Linked DNA regions of Homo sapiens: region 2 is linked to region 1. The links are contacts of gene promoters, found by promoter capture Hi-C in human tissues and cell types (Jung and others, 2019). All regions are on one chromosome and are shown on one strand. Each heading gives the region's core, a stretch centred on a gene start or on the middle of the fragment in contact. The rest is flanking DNA. Distances are from core to core; before and after follow the strand shown.

Region 1 (3,629 bases), core at 293-2,792:
CTTCATTTAGGCATACACACACCACAGTTTCAAACTTGTTATCAACAATTTATCCTCCATAGTTGGTAATGTCTTGATATGGTCAAAGTCTATCTTTTGAAAATTCAAATACAAAATGGTTTAAAATGTCTTTTCAGCTTTTTTTTCTTATTAAAGAAACAAAACATTATATTTTCCTCACTTATCTGAACAATTAATATTGCATTACTCTAGAATAAACACTTAATTTTAATACAAAACTTGTACTCTGCTTGATAACACCAATTTAAATAATCTTAAGTTTTTTCTTTCCTACTCTATAACTTACCTTAGCCACTGTTTTGCTCTTAGAAAAAAAATTATTCAAAAGTATTCATAATTCTGTATCTTATAACTATTTCCACTAGAGTATACTTTAATAGTAGGATAGCATGTGTCCACAAATATTTTATTTGAGGCAGCAGTGAAGAGGTTAATTTACAGCTGCATTTATGAACGAGTTTTATTTATATTTGACGTGCCGTACAATATTTATGTTTCAATTCATAAACTATGTTTTCCCAAGTGGCAAGAAGTGAAATGTTAATTACATACTATTCTAAAATAGACTGAAAGACAAAAGTTTTTGTTTAAGTAAAGTTTGAAATTAAAAAATAGGGCAGTGAGTTAAAAATCTGATTTATTCTTTGGAACTACCAGATGGAATAGTAAAAGAGGATTTTGGGAGGAGAGAGAGAAGAGTAGAGAAGAGAGACAGAGATTGAGATGGATTTTGAAATTGGCCAAGCATCATATCACCGATTTTTTACATTCTGGCATAATAGTACTTCGAGGGTCTGAAGAACCACACCGGTCCGTTTTCCCTTACTTTAAAGATCTAAATGGTATTTTTTTTTAAAGTCTTCCTGGGTACACCAGGAAATTTATTTAAAACCATGCCATTGGGTACGAACTAAGAGCATTCTTCAAACAAACATGACCTTTTCTCTGTTTCTTGTATTGCTCTTCTCAACCCAGCCAGAAATCCCAGACAAGTTTATTTACACACACACCCGCACACGCACGCACACACACACCCCACACGCAGAGTGGCGGAAACGCCCTCTTTCCAACCCTTCCAAACAATTATCTCCGAGAGCAAAAGAAAATAATCAACAGCCCTGTGTGCTGGGCTGAGCCGGAGAGCCGGGCGCGAGGAGGGAGGGCGATCCGCAGGCGAGCAGGGAAAACGTGGCTCCTCTGCCGAGGAGAGGATTTGTGAAAAGGAGCGCTGGCCCGCGTGCGCCTCTTGTTCCCCGTGTAATTTGCAGCCAATCATCAGTAGGTGTCCACGTCCCTGCGTCCTCCTCACCTCGGCGCCAATCACCCCCACCCCCGCGCCCCCGCCCCCAGCCTCCACACCTCCTCCCTCGCCTTTCTCTGTGGCTCCCCTCCCCCAGCAACCGCACACTCGCACACACACAAACAGAGAGAGAAGGGGGGAGGGTGAGAGAGAGGGGAAGAGAGAGAGAGAGAGAGAGGGGAGAGAGAGAGGAGAGACTCCCCGGCTCCCTCCCTCCCTCGCACACAGCGACTGGAGACGGACGGAGAGCAACGCGCTGGGAGAGGAGAGACCACCGACAACAGACCCGCGCTCTCACACATACACTCACACTCGACTCTTTCCTCTCCCCCCACCTCCTCCTCCTTCCACCCCCACCACTAACACCATCTCCTCCTCCTTCTCTCTGCAACAAGAAAAAAAAGCCATTTACAGGTATTTTTTTTGATCCGCATATTTATTTACCCCCCCCCCCCCAACAGTTTGTTTACAAGTATTAAAGTTGTAATTGGGAGCTGCCAAGACACATCTGGATTTGTGTTTCTTTGTGTTAGGGGGTGATGTGCAACTAATTAAAGGCAGACTGGCAGCGTCTGCAAATTCTAAGGCTCCCCAAATAAAAAGAGACTGGTAAGTGATTGTTCTTTCTCTTTCTCTGGCTTTTTTTTCTCTTAAATGTTTGCTGTCCGTTGGGATTGTGAAAGTAGATTATTAATGCTGGACTCCAGCAAGAAAAAGCGTCGCTGTATTAATTTATTAATTAGTCTGCACCCGCCCCTCCTCCTGAATGTTAAATATGACCTTTGATCTCTATGTCTCTGGTAGACCAGACATACAGTATTAGGCATGTAAAGTCACATTGTTTAAAGGCAAAACAGGATCATGAAGTATGGATCTCTAATTTAGCTTTGGCATAGAACTATAGTTATTTGTGTGTGTTTTATTTTGTTTTTAAATAAAATCCAAACAATAGCTGTGGCTTAGATACCTTTTTCATGCTCCAGAGATGCATTGATTAAACAATAATGACCTGGATACTGGGCATAATCATTTTCTACAGTTTCTGGTGGTATTAAACCTTGAGGTAGGAAGAGGGATGGTGATGGCAATCAGAAAAGCAAGGAAAGCTTGTGTTTGGAAACACCACTCTAAGACTCTAAAAAAGGGACGTTAAATTATTTATTTATTTGGAACAAGGTCAAAAGACTAAAAGGTTGAAAATTTTCCCTCCACTCAATGTGATGATATCTAATGCATGGTTGACATAACTAGTTTTTACTGAGTAGCAGTTATTATGGTCTTGCAGTTACAATGTGATTCGCAGAAACTGAAGCTATATGCATATTCTTGCTGTGTCTTCCCTCACCCCTTCCAAGCATCAAGAATATTTAGCCAAGAGCATTTTGGGGGCACCTTTTGTATTGCCCTCAGACCTGAGAAGGCAGCAGTTTTCCCTAATGCGAAACCACAGAGGTGGTTCCTGAGTGATTAGGGACTTGCTGTGATTGAAAGATGCCTGCAAGCTTCTAATCCAGCCTGGGGTGAGGTTCCTTATCTTGATTTACTTTGCCTAATAGGGATTTGTTTACATAAACCCCTCTTTTTAGAGCACCTCATCAGTAGGTCTTGAAGTTTTTGCACTTGGAGTTTGGGCATAACTGGTTCATTAACCTAATTATAAGCATAATTACTATAATTGATAACCATTTTGAACTCTGAATATTTGAGACGGAGACTATTGGGCCCCCATGTAGAATTCCCTGAACTCTGCATTCTAGACCAATCTATGGGCTTCAAAAGATGTCACAAAAAGATATTCTGGCCAAAAAATCTGGAAACAAAGAAACTGGTTTTTTAAGTGAATATACACTTTATGCCTTTGCTTTGCTTCTTAAAAGGCTGTGATGTACTTCTCCCTCTGTAATAAACAACTAAAATACCTCTTCCTAAAGCATAATAATGGCCTGTAAGCAAGGAGATTAATGCAAATACCCAGTTAACATTAAACTTTCCTCTTAAAAAGAGCAAAATTAAAAAATAATTTTGTTATTTTTCTCTGGCAAAGAACACGTTAAAGCCCCCCCCCCTTTTACTCAATGTAAAAATCAGTGATTGTGAGATATCCTTTTCAAAAAGTCCCATGCTTTCCTCTTGTCTTCGGAAGAGACAGCAATCTCCATTAGGAATGATTAGGAATATTCTTATAGAGGCTGCAGGCACTTGGTTTAAAACCTGAGACATTGCTGATATAAATAAATATGTATATATGTAATTATCTGGCTTATCTTTATTTTCTACCTTAAAAAAAATCAAGTAGAACACCACCCTC
Region 2 (3,629 bases), core at 592-3,091, 210 kb before region 1:
CTTCAGCGTTGCCCTGCTCAGAGAAGAGGAATCTAGAGAGGCAGTCTGGCTACAGCGGCTTTGTGGTGCTGTGGTGGGCTCCTTTCATTTCGAACTTTCTGGCAGCTTTGTTTACACTGTGAGGGGAAAACTGACTACTTAAGCCTCAGTAAAGGCGGATGCCTCTCCCCCTACCAAGCTCAAGTGTCCCAGGTCGACTTCAGACTGCTGTGCTGGCAGGGAGAATTTCCAGCCTATGGATCTTAGTTTGTTGGGCTCCATGGGGGTGGGATCCACTGAGCAAGACCACTCGGCTTCTAGGCTTGAGGCCCCTTTCCAGGGGAGTGAACAGTTCTGTCTTGCTGGTGTTTCAGGCACCACTGGGGTTACAGAAAAAAAAAAAAAATCCTGCAGCTAGCTTGTTGTCTGCCCAAACAGCCGCCCAGTTTTGTGCTTGAAACCCAGGGCCCTGGTGGTGTAGGCACCTGAGAAAATCTCCTAGTCTGTGGATTTTGAAGACAGTGGGAAAAGCATGGTATCTGGGCCAGATAGCACTGTCCCTCACTCATGGCTTCCCTTGGCTAGCGGAGCAAGTTCCCCAATCCCTTGTGCTTCCGGGTGAGGTGACATCCCACCATACTTTGGCTTGCCCTCCGTGGGCTCCAGCCACTGTCTAACCAGTCCCAATGAGATGAGCCAGGTACCTCAGATGGAAATGCAGAAATCACCCGTTTTCTGCATTGGGTCTCGCTGGGAGCTGCAGACTGGAGCTGCTCCTGTTTGGCCATCTTGCCTGGGACTGAGATTTTTAAAACCTAAATGAAGTTTTGCTTTCTCCATCTAAATCCATTCTAGCATTCTCTCACTTGATATAAAAGTATAAACTCTAAATTTCTTTGCATTGCCTATAAGGTCCTAAATGATCCACTCTGCCTTCTCTGTTTCTGTCCTTTTCCTTCTTGCTCCATATGTCCCAGCCATACTGACCATCTTTCTTTTCCAGAAAGAAAACTAAACTCCTTGTCAAATTCAGACCTGTGCATTTGCTGTTGCCTCTGCTGGAACACTTGGCTCCCACCTGCTTCCACTGCTGACTCCTTCTTGTCATTCAGCATTTACTCAAAGGCTTCCTCCTTAGAGCAGCCTTACCTAGCTACTTTTGCTAAAGGAATTCTTCCTTCTTATTGTTATAGCTCTTTGTTTTATTTTTTTCCCCCATAGCCCTTGTCATTCCCTAAAAACTTCCATTCTTCTTGTGTGCTTTCTAATTGCAATGTTAGATTCATAAAAGCAGAACTTTGTTTAACTACTATATCTACAATGGTGAGGACAATGTTGGGCCCATGATAAGAGTCAGTAAAAATGTGTTAGACTTGGATGACTCTGTAACACATTATATTCTAAGATTTTATTATTGTAGGTCTCATCATTCTTAAACTCATCATGTCCATAAACAATTGCAGTGTGGCTTATTTTTTATGTGAATGCTTATTTGCATTTAAATATTGCATCAACAGCATATTTTATCTACAACATGCTAGCATAGTGGTTTAAAGTATGGTCCTGAAGTCCCTCAGATTGTGTGGATTTCTATCCATGTTCTGCTGTGTAACATTGTGCTAGTTATATAGACTCTTTACACTTAGTATTTTCAAATATTTTTATATACAAATTATGGATAATAACATTGCCCCTGCCCTATAGTGTGTTTTGTTGAGAAAATCAGAAGAAATATGTATAGCACTTAATACAGTGCCTGGCATATGCTAAATCCTCAAATGTTAGCTGTTAGTAATAGTAGTAGTATTTAATGTTTTTACACAACTGTGCAACTGTCAAGCCAGTACTTTTACATGAAAATAAGTCAATAGCAAGGTGAACTGGACAATGACCAACAATTTAAATATGTCATCAATGTTATTTAGTCCAGAAAAATAAATATATACCATTCTCATGCTATTTTTTCCTAACCTTATGTGTTTATACTGACAAGTGATAAGCTTTCTGATAACTTCAGAGGGAGAGAGGAGCAAAAAAGAGGGATTCAATAAAAGTGCATTTTAATCTCTGAATCCTTCTATAATTCGGAATTTTCTCATTCTAAAAGATCCTAATGCAAAAATTAGAATTCATAGTGATGGCAAACAACTGTACCCATATTGTATATATATATTCTAAGTTGTTTCACTTGTATGTATTGTTGTTGGGATAGAAAAGGAAAAAAATTACATTGATGTTCAATATCACGTGAAATACATATTTTTTAAAATACCAGTGATGATGTAATCAACATTACTTAGCAGAAGAAACAAACTTTACATTCTCTTATCTGCTTTCATAACGGTATATAAAGTCAATACAATAGACACATAATTATACATATCTACTGAACATTAAAATTCACCTTAAGTATTAATTCTTTATTCATATGAATAATTAAAATTTGCTTTATTTAAGTTTTTAAAAGTACTTTTGAGAACCGGCTTATTTCTAAGGACTAAATACCCTTGATATATGCTTTTGATCCTGATTCAATGAAATTGTTTTTCTATTTTTCTTTGTTCAGTATATAAAACAGGCAAACCCGCAGTTTGTACTTCATGACTAGCCTTAACTCTTGTTGAAGTATAGCAAAATTATAGTCCTGTCAAAACATATTAGTAGCTGTGGACAATCTTTGGCTACCTCTAGTTTTCATGCATATTTGTAATCTTAATAATTATCTATGCACTGCTTTGTTGAAAGGTTCATTGTTCTGATTTCTATTTAGAAAAGCTTTCTTCTTTTAAGAATACATGATTACCCAAATAGTCTACCCTAAATGTTGTATTTCTTTGGCGTAGTAAGTCTGATTTCCTTAGCATGGCAAATCTTCTCTGACTTGTGAGAAAAGTCAATTGAAAAATGAACCAAATTATTTCAATGAGAACTCAAGCAAATGTGCTTGTAGAATTTCAACAAGTGCCGTATCGGTTAAAGAAAAATGATTTGAAGGCTGAGTGTCTAGCTAAGTGCCTGATTTCTCTGTGCATATTTATCATTAATTAATCTATAAATGTAGCTACCCATGTTTATGGTATATGTAGTGGTTATTGTTACAGAAATCAGGTGTTTCATCAAATATACTCATTTAGCACAAAACAAATATAGTGTCGGCCTCTTTCATTGAACTCTCAGCAACTAAAGCTTAAGTCAAGTATGCATTTTCCAAAATGTAATGAAATCACCATCAAAACAGAATGTTACAGTGCCAGCTGTCTCCTCTTTGGTTTTCTAAAGCTTTATTTGTTGATTAAGTGGCTTGCATCTCTACAAGGCCACCACTCACTTTTCTAAGGCCTTGACCACAGACGATTCAATTGCTTGGCTGTTAAATTTTCAGCCGTCAGTGACTATTTGAATATTATCTACTAAAAGTCAAATTTTTCTGACAGAAACCACAGTAAATCAGTGGATAGATACTTAACCCTCCAGAACTCAACCTAAGGGAAACAGTTCTTCTTATGCTTGGGGAGTTGTAACAACATCTGAGAAATGCTGCCGGGAGAGCAGAATGTGCCTGTACATGGCTTATTTAAGCTTCGAATAAGTAAGAGCTTTATGCTGAAGATACTCATGAACAATGATTTACATACAAAACAACACTACTA

What was found. The method cuts DNA at HindIII sites, captures the fragments that hold promoters and counts their contacts. A contact is called where the count stands out against the background at its distance.
Region 2: a fragment that was not itself captured here is called in contact with the fragment with the promoter of CXXC4 in region 1 in 1 of the 25 tissues and cell types used here (H1 embryonic stem cells).

What each region holds. Positions count from the first base shown.
Region 1 is chr4:104,492,807-104,496,435 of GRCh38, reverse strand. It overlaps CXXC4 (CXXC finger protein 4), which reads left to right and starts at 1,542. Exons shown (of 3, transcript NM_025212.4): 1 at 1,542-1,735. The region is part of intron 1 of CXXC4-AS1 (CXXC4 antisense RNA 1); the gene reads right to left. The HindIII fragment of the contact is 3,942 bases long and covers 1-2,625 here.
Region 2 is chr4:104,703,706-104,707,334 of GRCh38, reverse strand. No RefSeq gene overlaps it. Among named protein-coding and RNA genes, the nearest start is that of CXXC4, 210 kb to the right of the region's middle. The HindIII fragment of the contact is 3,135 bases long and covers 274-3,408 here.